4 separate regions of the Homo sapiens genome follow, and regions 2, 3 and 4 are each linked to region 1. The links are contacts of gene promoters, found by promoter capture Hi-C in blood cells and fetal thymus (Javierre and others, 2016). All regions are on one chromosome and are shown on one strand. The core of a region is centred on a gene start or on the middle of the fragment in contact, and the rest is flanking DNA. Distances in the headings are between cores, read along the strand shown.

Evidence for each region. The method cuts DNA at HindIII sites, captures the fragments that hold promoters and counts their contacts. A CHiCAGO score of 5 or more calls a contact.
Region 2: a fragment that was not itself captured here is called in contact with the fragment with the promoter of HAUS6 in region 1 in 14 of 17 cell types (erythroblasts, total CD8 T cells, total CD4 T cells and 11 more); the score reaches 13.9 in erythroblasts.
Region 3: a fragment that was not itself captured here is called in contact with the fragment with the promoter of HAUS6 in region 1 in 8 of 17 cell types (naive CD8 T cells, total CD8 T cells, erythroblasts and 5 more); the score reaches 9.1 in naive CD8 T cells.
Region 4: a contact is called between a fragment that was not itself captured here and the fragment with the promoter of HAUS6 in region 1, in 6 of 17 cell types (M0 macrophages, M2 macrophages, M1 macrophages and 3 more). The highest score is 15.7, in M0 macrophages.

The regions. Positions count from the first base shown.
Region 1 is chr9:19,100,470-19,105,718 of GRCh38, reverse strand. HAUS6 (HAUS augmin like complex subunit 6) reads left to right here and starts at 2,815. Exons shown (of 17, transcript NM_017645.5): 1 at 2,815-3,195. The coding sequence starts at 3,068. RefSeq lists an enhancer at 2,573-3,136. The HindIII fragment of the contact is 8,228 bases long and covers 548-5,249 here.
Region 2 is chr9:19,321,711-19,326,959 of GRCh38, reverse strand. DENND4C (DENN domain containing 4C) reads right to left here. Exons shown (of 33, transcript NM_001330640.2): 13 at 2,453-2,598; 14 at 986-1,021; 15 at 766-896. Among named protein-coding and RNA genes, the nearest start is that of RPS6, 56 kb to the left of the region's middle. The HindIII fragment of the contact is 1,053 bases long and covers 1,680-2,732 here.
Region 3 is chr9:19,304,657-19,309,905 of GRCh38, reverse strand. DENND4C (DENN domain containing 4C) reads right to left here. Exons shown (of 33, transcript NM_001330640.2): 10 at 4,379-4,554. Among named protein-coding and RNA genes, the nearest start is that of RPS6, 73 kb to the left of the region's middle. The HindIII fragment of the contact is 6,309 bases long and covers 1-5,249 here.
Region 4 is chr9:19,280,768-19,286,016 of GRCh38, reverse strand. All of the region lies in intron 2 of DENND4C (DENN domain containing 4C), which reads right to left. Among named protein-coding and RNA genes, the nearest start is that of DENND4C, 53 kb to the right of the region's middle. The HindIII fragment of the contact is 9,952 bases long and covers 1-5,249 here.

The DNA.
Region 1 (5,249 bases), core at 1,566-4,065:
TCCCAAAGTGTAGAGATTACAGGTGTGAGCCATCACATCCGCCCCAATCAGAAAATCTTTGAGTCCACCTATGACCTGAACCCACCACTTTGAGTTGCCTCACCTTTCTGTACAGAACCAATGTATACGTCACGTGTATTGATTGATGTCTTATGTCTCTCTAAAACTGTATAAAACAAAGCTATAGCCCCATCATCTTGGGCACATGTTCTCAGGAACTCTTGAGACTGTGCCTCAGGCCATGGTCATTCATATTTGGCTCAGAATAAACCTCTTTAAATATTCTGTTAGAGGAACCCCTGCTTACCAGACCTCTGGTTTAATAAAACATGACTAGAGTGACTCCATCTTAAAGTAGCTAGGCACTTACAAGGCTCCTATAAAATTAATGCTTATGGTTTAAAAATAGCCACATTCTAAGCTGGCCACCAATTATAATTACAGAATATTTATGGCCATACAGGACATCTCCCACTAAGCCTGCAGAATGTCCAGATGTTCTAAAGAGCAGCCCACTTTACTTAAAGATGACGTTAATGAGCAAGCTTAGGTTGAAAGATTAATGGTCTCTGAAAGCACAATAGCCCTACCTTTAGTGAGCACATCTGCGCATTCCAAGTTTAATCACAGCTCTTTATAGTTTCTTACAAGCAGAGACAGTAACAAAGGACCTTGTGTTCCTCCGCCTGCTTTCTGAGGTTGCTCCGCTCTTCAACGGAGTAGTTTCCAATAAACTTGCTTCCTTCATTGTGTTCTGTGATTCACCTCAAATTATTTCCTGCACGAGATCCAAGAACCTTCTCTTTGGGTCTGGATCAGGACTCTGTTTTTTCCGGCAACAATTTTACAGACTTTGACTCTTTTTGTCGACAGGAGTCAGAGATTTTTTTTTTGTGGCTGTTCTTTTGCTTTGAGAAGGGTCTTGCTCTGTCACTAGGCTGAAGTGCAGTCGTGCAATCACAGTTTACTGCAGCCTCAGCCTCCCAGGGCCCACGTGATTTTCCCACCTCAGCCTTCTGAGCAGCTGGACCACAGGCGTGCACCACCAGAATGGAGTCAGAGATCTTACAGATGACCTCCATAATGAAAAGCTATGGGTGATAGCATAAACTTCAAAAGGTGCTTTTAGGCTGGGCACGGTGGCTCATTCCTTGGGAGGTCAAGGTGGGCAGGTCGCTTGAGCCCAGGAGTTCGAGCCCAGCCTGGGCAACTTAGTGGCTTTTCTTTCTTTCTCTCTCTCTCTCTCCTCTTTTTTTTTTTTTTTTTTGAGACAGAGTCTCACTTTGTCGCCCAGGCTGGAATGCAGTGGAAGGATCTTGGCTCACTGCAACGTCTGCCTCCCGGGTTCAAGCGATTCTTCTGCCTCAGCCTCCCGAGTAGCTGAGCTGGGATTACAGGCATGCGCTACCACGCCCGGCTAATTTTGTATTTTTAGTAGAGACGGGGTTTCTACATGTTGGTCAGGCTGGTCTCGAACTCCCCACCTCAGGTGATCCGCCCACCTTGGCCTCCCAAAGTGCTGGGATTATAGGCGTGAGCCACTGTGCCCCGCCTCTCTCTCTTTTATTAAGGTGATTTTAGTGAGGCAGGAGACAATCATTGCCAGAGGTAGCAATGAGACTTAAAAGCAGGTTACCCAATCCACTTCCAGGCCCTGTTGTCAGTGGGGTTTGTGGTAGGCAACAGCTGTCAATTAAGACGACGGGCCGGGTGCGGTGGCTCACGCCTATAATCCCAGCACTTCGGGAGGCCGAGGAGGGCGGATCACGAGGTCAGGAGATCGAGACCATCCTGGCTAACAGGGTGAAACCCCGTCTCTACTAAAAATACAAAAAATTAGCCCGGCGTGGTGGTGGGAGCCTGTAGTCCCAGCTACTCGGGAGGCTGAGGCAGGAGAATGGCGTGAACCTGGGAGGCGGAGCTTGCAGTGAGCCGAGATTGCGCCACTGCACTCCAGCCTGGGAGACAGAGCTAGACTCCGTCTCAAAAAAAAAAAAAAAAAAAAAAAAAAAATTAAGAGGACTGCAGGCGGCCAGGCGCAGTGGCTCACGCCTGTAATCCCAGCACTTTGGGAGGCCAAGACCGGCAGATAACCTGAGGTCAGGAGTTCGAGACCAGCCAGCCAACATGGTGAAACCCCGTCTCCATTAAAAATACAAAAAAATTAGCCGGGCGTGGTGGCGGACACCTGTTAATCCCAGCTACTCGGGAGGCTGAGGCAGGAGAATCGCTTGAACCCGGGAGGCGGAGGTTGCAGTGAGCCGAAATCGCGTCACTGCACCCCAACTTGAGCAACAAGAGCGAAACCCCGTCTCAAAAAAAAAAAAAAAAAAAAAAAAGACTGCAGGACTGCAGGGGAGTATAGAGCCAGATTTCATTTAAAGCAGGAAAAGGAACATCCGGCATTTGAGGACATAGATTTCGCTAACGACAGAAATGAGGCTCAGAGATTACGTGACTTGATTAGAGTCACAGTGAGCATAGCGGAGGATGGAACCAATGCTTTAACTCTACACCGAGGCATAGTGCTCCATTTATGGCTTTTTTGTGACGTAACAACTAGGATACACAAGCAAATGGACCCCACTAACCAAGAATCAGAAACCCGAAGGCCCGAGGATCTGGGCACGACAGCGGTTAAGCAAGCGCAGAGCAAGTCGCTGGCCGCGCAATGCCCGGTGGGTCTTGCAGTTTCTTGGCTGGGCATGGCCGGAAGGGAGGAGAGAAGGACGCATTGCATGGCGGGAGATATAGTCTTTGCCGGAAGTCCCTCCTCCCTCGGACGCCTGGCGGCGCCGGCGCACACTGCTCTTCCTTAAGGGCGGGAGTCTCGGTTTGTGGTGGCTTCGCTGAGGCAGTGGTGGCCGCACTATACCGTTAGAAACTCAATTTCCCGGAGGTTGTGAGGCCCTTTGAGGCGAAATCGCTCTGGGCGTGAAAGGAGCAGGCGTTGGCAATGGAAGGACCACCGCGACCTCAGGCTGACCGTAGGGAGGGATCTTGAGGGCCCTCCGAGTCCCCTGGGCTTGCGCTTTCTTTCTTTGCAGCCACCGTGCCTACCGCGAGGATGAGCTCGGCCTCGGTCACCGCTTTCGAGAAGGAGCATCTCTGGATGTATCTGCAGGCGCTCGGCTTCGAGCCAGGCCCGGCAACCATTGCCTGCGGAAAGATCGTGTCGCACACGCACCTCGGAGTGTAAGGAGGCCGGGGCCGGCGGGGCGAGGGAGCCTGAACCGGGGGACGCCGGGGGACTCCCCCTTTTGTAGACCCCGGAGGTTGATTAATCAGAATTGGTTGAGCAGTTACTCTGTGCCAGGCATTGGCTCCAAAGTTCCTACTCCCAGTTGCTGCCAGCCTAGGGGCAGAGACAGACAGTAAATAATGCAAGAGTGCCGGAAGCGCTCTGTAGGGGAGTGCAAAAGTCTGCAGATGGGGAGAGTGCAAGACTGGAGGAGCAGCTTAACTCTGCCTATGTGGTGGAGGGGTGGTCTGTGAAGTAGTGGGAGGGATGGCGGGTGGTAGTGGAAGAGCATGGGAACCATATGTACAAAACACCTTTTGGACTCAAGGGAGCCTTTGAAGGTGGTTGTTTAATTTTATAATTTTTAATTTTTTAATTAGTAAGGCATGTTGGAGTTAGCATAAAACAACGGAGAAGGGTATTAAAAACAAATACCCTTTTAAGAAAAGTATGGAAAGTAAAAGCCCCTTCCCTACTTTTTCCACTTCTGTTTTATCAACTTTAGCCAGTATCTCTATTTAATCATTCCCACTGTAGGCCAAGAGGAATTCTTTTCTTTCATATGGAGTCTCCCTCTGTTGCCAGGCTGGAGTGCAGTGGCACGATCTCGGCTCACTGCACCCTCCAACTCCCTGGTTCAAGCGATTCTCCTGCCTCAGCCTCCCGAGTAGCTGGGATTACAGGCACTTGCCACCACGCCCAACCAATTTTTGTATCTTTAGTAGAGACGGGGTTTCACCATGTTGGCCAGGATGGTCTCGATCTCCTGAGCTCATGATCCACCTGCCTCGGCCTCCCAAAGTGCTGGGATTACAGGCGTGAGCCACCGTGCCCGGCCTCTATTTTTTTAAAGTATTATTATTTTAGAGACAGTAGCTAACCATGTTGCCCAGGCTGGTCTCAAAATTCCTGGGCTCAAGCAATCCTCCTGCTTCGGTCTTCCAAAGTGCTGGGATTATAGATATGAGCCATTGTTTTTTGTTTTGAGACAGGGTCTCCCACTCTGTCGCCCAGTCTGGAGTGCAGTTGTGCGATCACAGCTCACTGCAGCCTCCAACTCCTGGGCTCAGGCGATCCTCCCACTTCACCCTCCTGAGTAGCTGGGACTACAGGTGCGTGGCACCATGCCTAGGGTCGGCATGTTGCCCAGGCTGGTCTTGAGCTCCTGGCCTCCAGCAATCCCCCCGCCTTGGCCACTCCAAGTGCTGGGATTACAGATGTGAGCCACCGAGCCTGGCCTGTTTTATTTATGTTCATAGTTGTACATATTTTGGGGATATAAAATTTTGATATTTTGATACACTTATACAATGTATAAGGATCAGATCAGGATAAATGGGATAGCCATCATCTCAAACATTTATCTTTCCTTTGTGTTGGAAACATTTCAGTTCTTTTCTAGCTATTTTAAAATACACAATAAATTATTTTTAACTATAGTTTCACTTATGTACTATTGAACACTAGAACTTATTCCTTCTATCTAACTGTATATTTGTACCCATTAATCAACTTCTCTTCCTCCCTCCTTCTCTCCTTTTCCTTTCCTAGACTGTGTTAACCACCATTCTACTCCCTACCTCCATGAGGTCCACTTTTTTTGCTTTCACATGTGAGAACATGTGATATTTGTCTTTCCGTGCCTGGTTTATTTTACTTAAGATAATGACCTCCAGTCCCATCCATGTTGCTGCAGATGACAGGATTTTCTTCTTTTTGTGTGGCTGAATAATATTCCATTGTGTATATATACCACAATTTCTTTATCCATTCATCTGTTTTCTTTATCCATTCAACTTAGGTTGATTCTGTATCTCGACTATTGTGAATAATGTGTCACTAAACATGGGAGTGCAGATGCCTCTTTCATATACTGATCTCCTTCCTTTTGGATATATACCCAGCAGTGGGATTGCTGGATCATAGGGTACTTCTATTTTTAGTTTTTTAAGGAGCCTATGGTTTCCCATAATGGCTGTACTACTTTACATTCCACCAACAAAGTACA
Region 2 (5,249 bases), core at 957-3,456, 220 kb before region 1:
ATATAGATAGCAAAGAACTACAAACAAATCCATGAGGCTAGTTAAATAAATCATAATAAATGCATACAATGTGGTCATTACAAATGATAAGGCACAAAAATATTTAATGGCATGGGAAAATGTTCAGACCACTAAAGGCAAACATAGATTACAAAGAGAATCTACCTGATGAACTCATACATGCAATACATACACACACACATCCACATGATACATACATACCTACAATTGTTAAGAGACACAAGTATTGGTGCTAGAATGATGTATTAGTTTTCCATTTTGGTTTGATTTTCTAAGTTTATTAAATTTATAGCAATAAAAAAACTACAAAATCCATTCTAATTTCTTAAAAGAGTCACATCCAAATCCTATCCTTTATCTTAATAAAGAATAAATTCCTGGCCCTCTACCTTAAGTTTTCTTGGTAAATTACTAATTCATAAGAATTTCACAGTCTTTGTTTCAAAATGAAACTCCCAAAGGGAGCAGGGAGCCTCATAAAAGTATCATTTTTCTTCTTCAGAATTGAAACTTTTAAAGATTAAAATACAAACACTAAGGTAAACAATGATCAACATCTGACAATACCATCCAATTCTTAAATTATAACACCTAGTGGCATTTCCATAAAATATTTATCTACATTAGTTCACTGAACTAATACTGAAAATGAGTTTCACAAAAGACTAATATACATATCTACTAATAAAAATTAAAAGAAACTGATAGGCTGTGCCATTAAGCTCTTTTAAAACTTCCTACTACCTGTACTTTGGTGACAGGTCCTTTCCATCATCAGGAGGTGGCTCTGGCGGCATTATAAATACAGTATGCTCACTTTTCTGTGAATCATCTAGTTCTATCAATCTGGTATCTTCTGCTGAATCAAAATCAACCTGAAAATCATTATTTTTCCCCAATTAATTTGCATACAAACAAGATCTAATTCTGAAATTTCAACCCTTAAAATCTAAGAAAAACATACCTTATCTGTTTTCTCTGTGCCTTTATCAGGAAACAACTAGAAAAAAAGAAAACAGATTCTTAATGAAAATGTCCACTATGAATTTAATAGACATTTTTATCTTACATTCTGATTTAGAAAAAAACTACCCCTTTTCAGTACCAGCTGATACAAAACATGCACAGTATATTTTTAGGCTGAATACATACTCTTAGGCTAAAGCATAATTTTTTACTTGTGGCTATTAGGATAGAAAACTATTTTGATTAGTTGTTTTGTAAACCTTAAGACAAAAGATGACCAATCACAAGGTTATCTGGCTTCTCAAATAAAAAATTTCATTATTATTAAGCCCCTTTATTAGTGATTGACATTAAACTTCTCATATAACTGGAAGATACTGGAATATCAATTTTGTAAATAAACAAAAATGTTGAATAGTTTTAATTATATCCCTGGAATTTTGGATCACACTGATAGGAGAAAATTATTTAAATCTTCTAAGGCATATGAATCATGAGGGGGCCATAAAAATTAATGTCATAATATTCAACTTTTTTTGGATACAATCTCAAATGTTATATAATATACAGTTTGCATAAACAATTGGCCCCAAGATCTACTTAGCAAAAATAAGAATTATATTAAAAGTTAGGAAAAATTATAACTAAGTCAAGAATCAATTTTAACTTCCTTAGGATGGGTGGGTAAAGCTTTAAAATTTAACGTATTTCCACCCTCCATTAGAACAAAAGAAACATATTAGGCAAAAGAATCTGGAAAGACATTAAAACAAAAGAACATAGAACTTCTATTACCCATAAAACTAAACATTTTTTAATTAAAAAACCTAAATCTTAAACTAAATCTTATTCATTTAAATTAAAAAAATATAAACTCACAAGGCTCAAGAAAATGTTCTTAGTTTTACAACTCAATAGTTGTAAAACGAAAGTGAGATTTAAAGAGAAAATTTACTGGCTGGGCATGGCGGCTCATCCTGCAATCCCAAGGATTTGGGAGGCCAAGGCGGGAGGATCACTTGAGCCCAGGAGTTTGAGACCAGCCTGGGCAATACAGTGAGACCTCATCTCTACCAAAAATTAAAAAAACTAGCTGGGCGTAGCACATGCCTGTAGTCCCAGCTACTCAGAAGGCTAAGGTGGTAAAATCACTTCAGGCAAGAAGTTCAAAGTTGCAATGAGCTATGATCATGCCACTGCACCCTAGCCTGGGTAACAGAATGAGATGCTGTTTCAATCAATGGATCAATGAATAAAGAATAGAAAAATTGGCTATATGTGGTAGAAACTTGAAACCACAAAGAATTTTATTCATATATTCAGCCCAGAATCGGTAACACATACACACACATACACAACCCTACTCTGTTTTCCTTATATCACTCTAGACTAACAATAACAATGATAATTACACAGGTAAGGCAAACTTTTTTTTCTAAACACTAGTATAAGTACAAACTTTTACCTTTTCTATGCAGTCATCAAAAAATGCTAATCCAGTATCTTTATCACTTACAAAACTGCATTCTTCAATGAAACGAATAAAAATCTGTGTTTTGGATAAAAGGGTATAGAATTTTGCATAGGCACGATCTCGACTTTTTAAAAATCCTGAGGAAAACAAAATATAATTAAATTCAAATTTTAAACTGGAATTCGATATTATAGGAAACATTAAACTTGTACTTATCTATATTACATTCTCTTTATATATACATATATATATCCATATTTAAAAAGAAGCTTCTATAGGTTGAGTATCTCTTATCTGAAATGCTTGGGACCAAAAGTGTTTCAGATTTCGGATTTTTTTTTTTAAGATTTTGAAATATTTGCATGTGCACAATCACATATCTTGGGGATGAGACCCAAGTAAACAGGAAATTCATTTATGTTTCACATATACATTATACACACAGTCTGAAGGGAATGTTATACAATATTTTCAATGATCTTGTGCATGAAACAAAGTGTGTGTTAAGTACTTACGTGTAGAATTTTCCACTTGTGGCATAATGTCAGCCCTCAGAAAGTTTCAGATTCTGCAGCATCTCAGGTTTTGGATTTTTAGATTAGGGAAGCTCAACCTGTGGTAACTGCATATATAGCTCCTTCTGCCTAATTAAACCACGAAAAATACTTCTATCAAACTCTTCACTGAAATCTAAATCCCCTATAAGGAACCTCCAGCTCTACAACTTTTAAGTAGAAATTTCTCTGATACTCTGCATACTCTTGAGTCCATGGTCAATTTCCAAAGAGTCAATGTCCTTCCTCTTTAATGTTGCAAGACCATTATTTCTGTATTGTGTTTTTAAAATTTCTGCTCATTAAAGTTTCAAGCATCTGACTATTCCACAATTTCCTCTATTAATCGTAGACATCTATTGATTTCAGGGACACTCCTTCATTCACTGAAGACCAAGGCATCTGATTCAAGGTCTCCTCCTTTCTAATTCCTACCACCATCATTCTTCCACACCCAGAAGCACAAACCATGAAAACACTTTAGATTCTTCTTCATTCCTTTTTTTTTTTTTTTCCAGACAGAGTCTAGCTCTGTCGCCCAGGCTGGAGTGCAGTAATGTGATCTTGGCTCACTGCAACCTCTGCCTCCCAGGTTTAAGTGATTCTCCTGCCTCAGCCTCCTGAGTAGCTGGGATTACAGGTGCCCATCACCACGACTGGCTAATTTTTGTATTTTTAGTAGAGACGGTTTCACCATGTTGGCCAGGCTGGTCTTGAACGGACCTCAGGTGATCAGCCCGCCTTGGCCTCCCAAAGTTCTGGGATTACAGGCGTGAGCCACTGCACCTAGCCTCTTTTCTTTTAAGAGATGGGTGTCTTGCTATGTTGACAAGGCTGGTCTCGAATTCCTGGCCTCAAGTGATCCTCCCATCTCAGCCTCCCAAAGTGCTAGAATTACAGGCATGAGCCATCATGCCCAGCCTTCATTCCTTGATTTTCAGTGATCCTATGCTCCATCCTACCTCAATCACCAACTTCAACACACAGTCACAGTCCCTTGACTTTCCTTGCCAGCATTCAAAACAACATTGCCTCTCAAATCTCTTTTTCACATCACTCCCAGCCCATTAGCTCTGCCTATCTGGTCTCCTTAATTAAGTATTTCTACTAAGTGTTTTAGGGTTTTTTGGGTTTTTTGTGCAGGGAGCAGAGAGGGAAGGCTCATGGAAATCTCCAATCCACTGGCCCCCTTATTTTTTTTTTTTTTTTTTTTGAGATGAAGTCTCACTGTATTGCCCAGGCTGGAGTGCAGTCAATCTTGGCTCACTGCAAGCTCTGCCTCCCGGGTTCATGCCATTCTCCTGCCTCAGCCTCCTGAGAAGCTGGGACTACAGGCGCCCGCCACCACGCCTGGCTAATTTTTCACTGTGTTAGCCAGGATGGTCTCCATCTCCTGACCTCGTGATCCGCCCACCTCGGCCTCCGAAAGTGCGGGGATTACAGGCCTGAGCCACCGCGCCTGGCCTCCACTGGCCCTTTTACTTCTATGTACATCCTCCCATCTTCACTTCTTTCTCCGTCCAATACTGATTCCATGCTATATCCATCATTTCAATTACTGTTTTGTCAATACTCTCAACCCCTCTGCTCTTTTGTCTTTTTGGTTAAACCTACCTAGCATAACCCAGCTCTGGAGGAATGTACTACTTGCCTTCTCTGGATCTGCATTAGGGTGGCTGAGCACAAGTTAAGGGGAAAAAAAGTTCCACAACTAGGCAGATCAGAAGCACTTATACCTTCATCCCTCACCAACAACCCTACTACATTTCTGGAATCAATTTAATTTTCCTCTTCACATGTTTTCACAACTATTTCCAATTTGTATGCGCTCTCCCTTCATGTTTTTTGTGCCCCCTCCGCACCCCGAAATGAGCATACTTCAGTGCAATGAAAATGCAGATCATTAAATAGAAACTATGTACACTATCTCACTACATAATTTATGACTCTTTAACAGCTATCCTTTATTCCTTCTGCCTTTTTACAGTGGATATGTCCCTCCTCCTATCTAAGGACAAACCATCACATGACTTCAGGATTCCAGCCCCTTCCAGTGTTCTCAGGATAAATCTCCCTCTCTATTAGCTATTTCTCTTTTTTTTTTTTTTTTTTTGAGATGGAGTCTCACTCTATTACCCAGGCTGGCGTTCAGTGGCGTGATCTCGGCTCACTACAACCTCCACCTCCCAGGTTCGAGTGATTCTCCTGCCTCAGCCTCCTGAGTAGCTGGGACT
Region 3 (5,249 bases), core at 1,415-3,914, 200 kb before region 1:
TATTTTCAACGTGTGTCAAAAAGGTATCATCTGCCTCCAAACGAATCTATAAATACAATATATATTAACCACTTCAGGTAAACATTCCATGATGTATACATACACCAAAGCATCACATTGCACCCCATAAATATATACAATTACGATATCAATTAAAAAAAATTTAAAAGGTAAAAAAAAAAATTCTAACAAAAATCCCAATGTAATTTTGTGTGGAGCTTAATAAGATGGTATTAAAATTTACATGGAAAAACAAAAGACCAAATAGAGTCAAAACAATTTTTAAAAAGAACAGGAGTAAGGGGATTCACCATGGACATTGCCAAAAAAAAAGTCTCATACCATGACTTTTTAAAACAGTTTTATTAAGATATAAATTCATACACCATACAATTCACACATTTGACCTGTGCAATTCAATGGTTTTTATCATATTCACGGAATTGTGTAACCACCACTACAATCAATTTTTTTTTTTTTTTTGAGATGGAGTTTTGCTCTTATTGCCCAGGCTGGAGTGCAATGACACGATCTCAACTGACTGCAACCTCTGCCTCCTGGGTTCAAGCAATTCTCCTGCCTCAGCCTCCCGGATAGCTGGGATTACAGGCATGCACCACCATGCCCGGCTAGTTTTGTTTTGTTAGTAGAGATGGGGTTTCTCCATGTTGGTCAGGCTGGTCTCAAACTCCCGACCCCAGGAGATCCACCCGTCTCAGCCTCTCAAAGTACTGGGATTACAGGCGTGAGCCACCACTCCCGGCCTACAAGCAATTTTAGAATATTTTTATCACCTCAAAAAGAAATCCCATAGTCACTTAGCTTCCAATACTCCCATCCTCTTCATTCCAAGGCAATCACTAATCAATCTACTTTCTACCTCTAGAGATTTGTCTGCTTTGGACATTTCATTGAATTATAATATAAGGTCTTTTAACATAATGTTTTCAAGGTTCATTCATGTTGTAGACAACTTAATTTTAAAGCCATTAAGACAGTATAATACTGGCAAGAGATTGAAGCAAATCAAAGGAAAAGAATTAGCCCAGATACATATTTATACAAATGTAGAAACTGATATGTCACATCAAGTTTAGCTGAATTAAATAACTAAATGAGAGAGGCAAACCTCACAACTTAAGAAATAACCATGATAGTATTTCATGGCCTCAAGGCAAAATATCTCATATACAAGAACCAAAAACAGTACTCCATAAAGAGAAATTAATAAATTTGATAAATTAAGATGAGCCCCTGTTTATCAAAAGATACCATAAACACAATGGAATGACAGGTCACAATGTGGGAGAAGCTATCTGGAATGCATACAGCAGACAAAGAATTAATTCCAGATTATATATACAATTTCTACAAATCAAAAGAAAAAGACAAACAATCTAACAGGAAAATGTACCAACAAAAGGAACATCCAATTCACAGGAGAGGAAAACCAAGGGGCACAAAGATATGAAAATCCTCCATTTGCTACTAATAAAGGAAATGTGAATTAAAGCCACAGTGAAATACCATTACCATCAAATTGGTAAAAAATTTAAAAGTCACCACAAGTGTTGGCAAAGATATGAAACAAAGAGAACTCTCATCTGCTGAGGACGGAGTAAACTTGGGAGAGTAATCTGGTATTAGCTATTAAGTTGAAAATGCTCATTCCCTACCAAGCAACATTAGCGCTTCCAGGTATATGCTTCAGAGGAATTCCTGAGCATATACTCAAGGAAATATATACGATGATCAGAACAGCTTTGTTCCTAACATCAAAGATCTAGATACAACCTAGATGTCCATCAACATTGATCACTGTTGAAAATGAACTGAATGAACCTCACAAAGAATGGTGAGCAAAAAAGTAATTCACAGAAAACTATTCAAGTAGAAAAAAATTTATAAGTATGCAAAACAAAATTTTATTTAGATTAATATATATATAATAAATGTTTGAAAAATACATGTATGTGATAAACTCCAAATCTAAGATGATGGTTGGATTTGGAGTTTATCCAAGATGATGGTTGGATCTGGAGCTCCTCTCTGGGAGAAAGGAGCAAAATATGGTTGTGGAGGACTATCTAGGGATTTCAGATTTATTGCTAATATTTTCTTTTTTTTTTTTTTTTTGAGACAGAGTCTCGCTCTGTCGCCCAGGCTGGAGTGCAATGGCATGATCTCCGCTCACTGCAACCTCCACCTCCTCAGTTCAAGCAATTCTCTTGCCTCAGACTCCCGAGTAGTTGGGATTACAGGCGCCCACCACCATGCCTGGCTAATTTTTGTGTTTTTAGTAGAGACGGAGTTTCACCATGTTGGCCAGGGTGGTCTTGAACTCCTGACCTCAGGTGATCCATCTGCCTCGGCCTCCCAAAGTGCTGGGATTACAGGCATGAGCCACTGTGCCCGGCCTATTTCTTAATAAAGTTGTGGTGAATAGATACAAGTTATTTACATTATTCTGTATAATTTGGAGGTATTTCTTCTTTTTTTTTTTTTTTTTTTTGAGACAGAGTCTTGCTCTGTTACCCAGGCTGCAGTGCAGTGGGTCAACATGGGTCACTGCAGCCTCGACCTCCTGGACTACAGTGATCTTTCCTCCTCAGCTGCCTGTGTAGCTGGGACTACAGGCACGCACCACCACTCCTAGCTAATTTTTTATTTTATGTAGATGGAGTCTCACCAAGTTGCCCGGGCTGGCCTTAAACTCCTGGGCTCAAGTGATCCTCCTGCCTCAGCCTCCGAAAGTACTGAGATTAAAGGTGTGAGACACTACACCTGGGCACATTTTATAATTCTTTAAACACAATTGAGCATGCCGGGCACAGTGGCTCATGCCTGTAATCCCAGCACTTTGGGAGGCCAAGGTGGGTGGATCACCTGAGGTCAGCAGTTCAAGACCAGCCTGGACAACATGGTAAAACCTCATCTCTACTAAAAATACAAAAAAATTAGCCAGGTGTGGTGGCACACGCCTGTTAATTCCCGCTACTCGGAAGGCTGAGGCAGGAGAATCACTTGATCCCAGGAGGCGGAGACTGCAGAGAGTCAGGATTGCACCACTGCAACTCTGTTGCCTGGGCAACACAGTGAGACTCTGTCTCAAAATAAATAAATAAATAAATAAATAAATAAATAAATAAATAAATAAATACAATTGTGCAAACACTTCACATTTATTTTAGAAAATAATGTTTTGATTACCAGAAGTTTTATAAAAGTTACTCAAAACTGCGCAAAATTAAGAATCTCCATATTATTTTATTCAGAATAAAAATAAAATAAGGTAAAAAATCTGAGTATTAACTTCACAAATAATCATTTCTAAAAGTACCACAATGAATACATTCCTGAAATAATTGTTTTTCAGGGAGAGTAGCCTACAAACAATAAAATGTGTGCTACAAAAAACTAATTCATGCAAGTTGTTCATTACTTTCAAGCTGTAAGTAAATCTAAATATACATAAGGAGCCACTATAGCTATACAGTTTCAAAATACAATGGTAGATCCATGTCAAAATTATATTTTAAGTTATAGCAAATGTTTTCTTCCTCCCTTAGGTTATTTTTTTGGTTCACATAAAAATATTTTCCCAACGAATTCTACTGTTGGAACTATTCAGGCCTTACCCAAAATATTTCTCTCTTCATTTTCTACCAATCTCAAACAGTAAAGAATAAAAGCGTTCTACGGCCTGGAAGTTGGCACCAACATAAGAACATTTTTAATACTTACTGTCCTTTCCCACTTTTGGTGGGGAAGTGGTAACCCTTAAACATCCATCCAGAACTATTTCTTTTATTAATGTAGTTTGCTACTCTCTGAACCCTCAGCTGTACCACTGCTGTACTTAATTATCACCTTCAGCAAACACAAACTATCACTGATTTTTAATATAAATTTCTAAGCAGTAAACAACAGATCCTTATAAAATTAAAATCCCGACAACTAAGCAAATGGTATAATATCACCCTATACTGTAGCCAAACTTTATCTCCAATGGGTAAACCCATTTTACTTACATATGGATTTTGAATTAAACCCAGAAAGCATATCATCTCTTGAGCTCTGAAAGCAGTGTTTAACCATTACTTTTCCAACTCATAGTCTCTTCTGATAAACATAAATATCTCCTGCTTACATTTAATATTGTTACCCAAATATAAACTATTATAATACTGAACATTTTTTTTTCCCAAATCACACAGCATTCCCAGATTCTGATACCTGCCCTGGTTGAGAGCTGCTGTATTTAAGACGAAGATTTAACAACTACCAAAAATAGCATATTTCTAGATGCTTTCAAAGAACTGTAACTCTACATAGTGAAAAATATAAATGGGAGATAATATAAAATGAATCAACTTACACATATAACATGTTCGTATCCAAGTCAATGCAAACAACATCTTGTGGTGGGTCATGAAGATCAAAATACCTTGAGTCAACTCCAACTATAAATGGTAAAGGTGCACTAAGCACTGCAGCCAGTGAAAGAGGACAAAGGGGAATATATGGGCATTGCCACTGAAATGGAAAGATCATCTGGGGAAAAAGTTTTAAAAAATTAACCAAATTTTAAATTTGCAATAAAAAATATATAAGTAACTAGTATTACTGAAAAGGGACCACTGAAAAGCAGTTAAGTCTGTTTTGTTTACCTTAAACTTCATTCCAAAACTAAATGACTATAAAATACTACTAAGCAATGCTAAGAACAAATGTAATTAAAATTTTCAAGCCATGACGATGATCATAAGCACAATAAAAATACTAACAGCTTTTTGCATGTTAATTCTTCTAGTATCTATACAAAGCACACATTCCAATTTTATGGAAAGAATCAAAATAAAATAAAATGGCCCCAAATATCATAAAATAAACTTATTATCTTTAACTCTTACACATTTCATTCACCTATTAATTCTCAAAATTACCTCAGATCAAAATCCAACTAAAAGCATCCAGGATTTAAAAAAAAAAAAAAACTAATTATTTTCCAGGGAATGCTAACAGATAATTAAAGAGCTCAACAAAAAAAAATTCATGGCCGGGCGCGGTGGCTCACGCCTGTAATCCCAGCACTTTGGGAGGCCAAGGCGGGTGGATCACAAGGTCAGGAGATCGAGACCATCCTGGCTAACAAGGTGAAACCCCGTCTCTACTAAAAAAAAAAAAAAAAAGTACAAAAAATTAGCCAGACGTGGTGGTGGGCCCCTATAGTCCCAGCTACTCGGGAG
Region 4 (5,249 bases), core at 823-3,322, 180 kb before region 1:
TCTGGAAAAAGAAGAAAGTTGGAGGACTCACACTTCCCTACTTCAAAACTACCACACATCTACAGTAATCAGTGCAATGTATTGGCATAAGAATAAACATATAGATCAACAGAATAAAATGGAGTGTCCAAAATTAAGCCCTTATATTTGCAGTCAATTGATTTCAACAAGAGTGCCAAGACAATGCAATCAGGAAGGAATAGTCTTTTCAATATGTAGTGTTGGAATAACTGGATATCCACCTGCAAAAGCATGAAGCTGGACCCCTTCCTTATACTACTCATCAAAAAACTAAAAATGGATCAAAATCAATGTAAGAACTATAGCACTCTTTGAAAAACAGAAATAAATCTTTGTGACCTTAGGTTAGACAAAGCCTTCTTAGATATGACACCAAAAGCACAAGCAGCTAAACATGTTAAGTGAAAAAAAAAAAAAAAGTCACAAAGACCACATACAGTGATTCAGTTTTTAAGAAATGTCCAGAATAGGCAAATCCATACAGACAGAAAGTAGATTAATAGTTACCTAGGGGTAGAAGGTGGGAAAGAATACTAAATAGCAACTGCTAATGGGTATGGGGTTTCTTTTTAGGCTGATGAAAATGTTCTAAAATTAATTGTGGTGGTAGCTGCACAACACTGTAAACAATACTAAAAACCATTGAATTGTACACTTTAAGTAAGTGAACTGTATGACATGTGAATTGTATCTCCATAAAGCTGTTAAAACCCAACTAATATTAAAATGTACTATAAAGCCTCTTTATTTAAATCAGGAGAGTATTAGCAAGGAAGTGAACAGAAAGACAATGAAACAGAAGAAAAATCTAGTCTATCATGAAGGTAATTTCTCAATATACTAAGGGAAGAATGGATTTTTAAATGTAATAAGCAGGACTTAGATAACTGGATTGTTATTTGGAAAAAAATATTATTTGGAAAAAAATAAAATTCTGTCTATACTTCACACTACACACCAGAAGGGGATCCCCCGGTGGATCACAGATCTAAACATAAGGAATTAAATCATACTAGTGCTAAAAGTATATCTAGCAGTGGGAAAAGACTATGACTCAAAATCCAGTACCAATAAAATATGGGAGTAGAAAAATAAACTACATAAAATAAACGTTACATGACAACGAACACCATAAGCCAAGATAAAAGACAAGTTGACTGAAGAAAATACTTGGCAACTTATTTCACAAAAAGCTCATCTTCCTAACACATAAAAAATTTCCTTTAAAAAAATCAAGGTAAAGATTAAAAATCTGTTTATAGTATAAGCAAAAGAATAAAGAAAATCGCCCCTTAAACTTATGGAGCAATGATTAACCTCAATGAAATTACTCTGATACACCATTAATCTCTGTGAGATTGACAAAAAATATGTCAGACCACATACTTTGTTGATGGGATGTGGATTAAAAAAACACATATATGGCAGAATATAAAATGGCACAAACACTATAGAGAAAAATTTAGTAACATTTAACAAAATTATTTACACATTTATCTTTTAATCCAGCAATTTTTTCTAGGATCTACCTGAAAACACACCTCCACAAATACATAACAATAAATGCACAGTTATTCATCAAAGCATTCTTTTAATAGCACAAAACTGAGAACAATCCAAATGTCCATCAGTAGAGGTTTCATTGAATAAAGTAAATACATCCACACAAATAAGTATTATACAGTCACACACAAAAAATGAGGAAGATCTTATATTCAGATACAGAGTGATTGCCAGTATATACTCTTAGGTGAAAAAGGCAAAGTACAAAATAGGGTATAGAGTATCTACATTTTGTTTAAGAGAAAGAAATAGGCTAGGCACACTGGCTCCCACTTCCTTTCAATTAGCTTAGCAAACAAATGAAAAAAAATGTCAATTTGTAGGTGACAAGTATATTGTTCATTATTCTACAGTCTATCATCTAGGAGAAAAGGATACTTGTGTATTATAATAGTTTATCAACTTTTCACATGTTTGAAATTTCTCAAAAAACAAAAGAACTGGAGAAACAAATCAGTTGAAAGCCAATGAATCTGACAAAGGGAAGAAAATAAGAACTTCGTATGGTCTATGATTCTGTGTCTCAAGAAATGCATCTGGGCGGGCGCAGTGGCTCACGCCTATAATCCCAGCACTTTGGGAGACAGAAGTGGGCGGATCACCTGAGGTTGGGAGTTCGCAACCAGCCTGACCAACATGGAAAAACACCGTCTCTACTAAAAATAAAAAATTAGCCTGGCATGGTGGCAGGTGCCTGTAGTCCCAGCTACTGGCGGGGGTGGGGGTGAGGGGGCGCGGAGTTGCAGTGAGCCAAGATCGGGTCATTGCACTCTGGCCTGAGCAACAAGAACGAAACTCTGTCTCAAAAAAAAAAAAAAAAAAGAAAGAAAAAAGAAATGCATCTGATATATAAGATAACATACTGCCCTGTTTAAATTATACTATACAATCATGCACCACATAATGATGATGCAAGCACAGACTGCATATACTATGGTGGTGCCATAGATTATAATGGAGCTGAGAAATTCTTATCACCTAGTATTTACAATACTATACCTTTTATCATTACTTTAGAGTATATTCCTACTTACAAAAAAAGTTAACTGTAAAACAGTCTCAGGCAGGTCCTTCAGGAGGTATTCCAGAAGGCATTCTTATCATAGAAGACAGCTCTATGTGGGTTACTGCCCTGAAGACCTTCCAGTGGGACAAGATGTGGCGATGGAAGGCAGAGATAGTGATGATCCTGACTCTGTAGGGCTAGGCTAACATGTGTCTTTTTGTCTTAAATTTTAACAAAATAGTTTAAACAGTTAAAAAAAAAAATCCAGGCACAGTAGTTCATATCTATAATCCCAGCACTTTAAGGGGCCAATGCAGAATTGCTTGAGGCCAGGAGTTCAAGAACAGCCTGGGCAACATAGGAGGACCTCATCTTTGCAAAAAATTTCAAAATAAGAAAATAAAAACTGGTCAGAGGCGGTGGCTCACGCCTGTAATTCCAGCACTTTGGGAGGTCAAGATGGGTGGATCACTTGAGGTCAGGAGTTCAAAACCAGCCTGGCCAATATGGTGAAACCCTGTCTCTACTGAAAATAAAAAAAAATTAGCCAGGTGTGGTGGCAGATGCCTGTAATCGCAGCTACTCCAGAGGCTGAGGCAGGAGAATCACCTGAACCCAGGAAGCAGAGATTGTAGTGAGCCCCAATCATACCACTGCACTCCAGCCTGGAAGACAGAGTGAGACTCTGTCTCAAAAAAAAAAAAAAAAAAAGAGAGAAGAAAAAAAGAAAAAGAAAAACAAAAAATAAAGTTTAAAAACCAAGCTAGTGCCAGCTATTCAGCAGGCTGAGGCTGGATCACTTGAGCCTAGGAGTGCAATGCCAGCCTGGGCAACAAGGCAAGACCCCATTATTTTTTTTTTTTTTTTAATTTTTGCCAGGCGTGGTGGCACATGCCTGTAATCCCAGCACTTTGGGAGGCCAAGGCAAGCAGATCACTTGAGCTCAGGTGTTCCAGAGCAGCCTGGGCAACAAGGCGAAACCCCATCTCTACAAAAAGAAAATTAGCCAGGAGTGGTGGCATACACTTGTAGTTCAGCTACTCAGGAAGCTGAGGTGAAAGGATTATCGCCTGAGCCCAGGAGGTGGAGGCTGCAGTGAGCCTAGACTATACCACTACACTCCAGCCTGGGCAACAAAGTGAGACCCTGTCTCAAAAAATAAAAAATAAAAGAATAAATTTTTAAAATAAAATTTTAAAATACAAAAAAACTTAATAAAATAAGGATTTAAAGAAAGAAAAATATTTTTGTACAGCTGTATGGTAAGTGTTTTAAACTAAGTATTATTACAAAAGAATCAAAAAAATTAACAAAAACTTTAAAAGTTTATAAAGTAAAAAGGCTATAATAAAGCTAAAGTTAATTTACTAAAGTCTATAGTAGTATACAGTAATGTCCTAGGCCTTCATATTCACTCAACACTCACTCACTGACTCACCTAGAGCAACTTCCAGTCCTGCAAGGTCCATTCATGGTAAGTGCCCTATACAGGTGTGACTTATTTTTTATGCCAGATTTTTCTGTACCTTTTCTATGTTTAGATATACATATACTCACCACTGTGTAAGTTGCCTACAGTATCTATTACCCCAGTAACATGCTGTACAGGTTTGCAGCCTAAGAAAAATAGGCTATAGTTGTATATGTAGTAAGCTATGCCACCTAGGTTTGTGTATGTACACTCTATGATGTTCACACAATGACAAAATCGCCATAGAACACATTTCTCAGAATGTATTCCCATCGTTAAGTGATACATGATTGTACTTTATAGTATATACGGTATTTCTATGGGAATATCAGATTTTACATATTTTAACTTAACATCTTTTCTAGAGAAAAGTACTATTTTTATAAATACCTCATCTCAGTTTATAAAACAGTAAAAAAGACAAAAGTTTAGCAACAGTGTTTCATATTAAACTTAATGAGATGGGTGTCTGTATTTCCAGTAGCTAATAGGCTTTCCTACTATAAATACAGAAGCTAATAGGTTTTCCAAACCCCTTCACACTAGAGTGAGGAAAGAGTGGGGGGAAAGTGAGGAGAACAGGCCAAAACATTTAAGTCACCAGACATTAACAATTATTTGATCTGGAGAGAAATATTAACCATCATGATTAGCTTAAGGACAACCATACACTCTAGCAAATCTGTATCAATAAACTACCATAACAAAAATTAGAAGCCTTAGGAACTGCAAGATGTGTATGAAAAAGCCACTTGCAATCTGAAAGCACCTACATATAATTACGTAAGTCATCATTTTATTTTTAAGTTGTATCACAAGCAACAACAATTTTGCAGAGATTCACATCTTTCAGTCATGACTGTATGGGAGGGGTGGCAGGTGGGCTTGTCAAAAGATGGACTCTAAAAGACGACTGGCCCGGCACAGTGGCTCACTCCTGTAATCCCAGCACTTCGGGAGGCCGAGGTGAGCAGATTGCTTGAGTCCAGGAGCTCAAGACTAGCCTGGGCAACATGAGAAACCCCACCTCTACAAAAACTACAAAAACTTAGCCGGGTATGGTGGTGCTTGCCTGTAGTCCCAGCTACTCGGGAGGCTGAGGTGGGAGGACCACCTGAGCCCAGAAGGCGGAGGCTGCAGTAAGCTGTGATCACACCATTGCACTGCAGCCTGAGCAACCACAGTGAG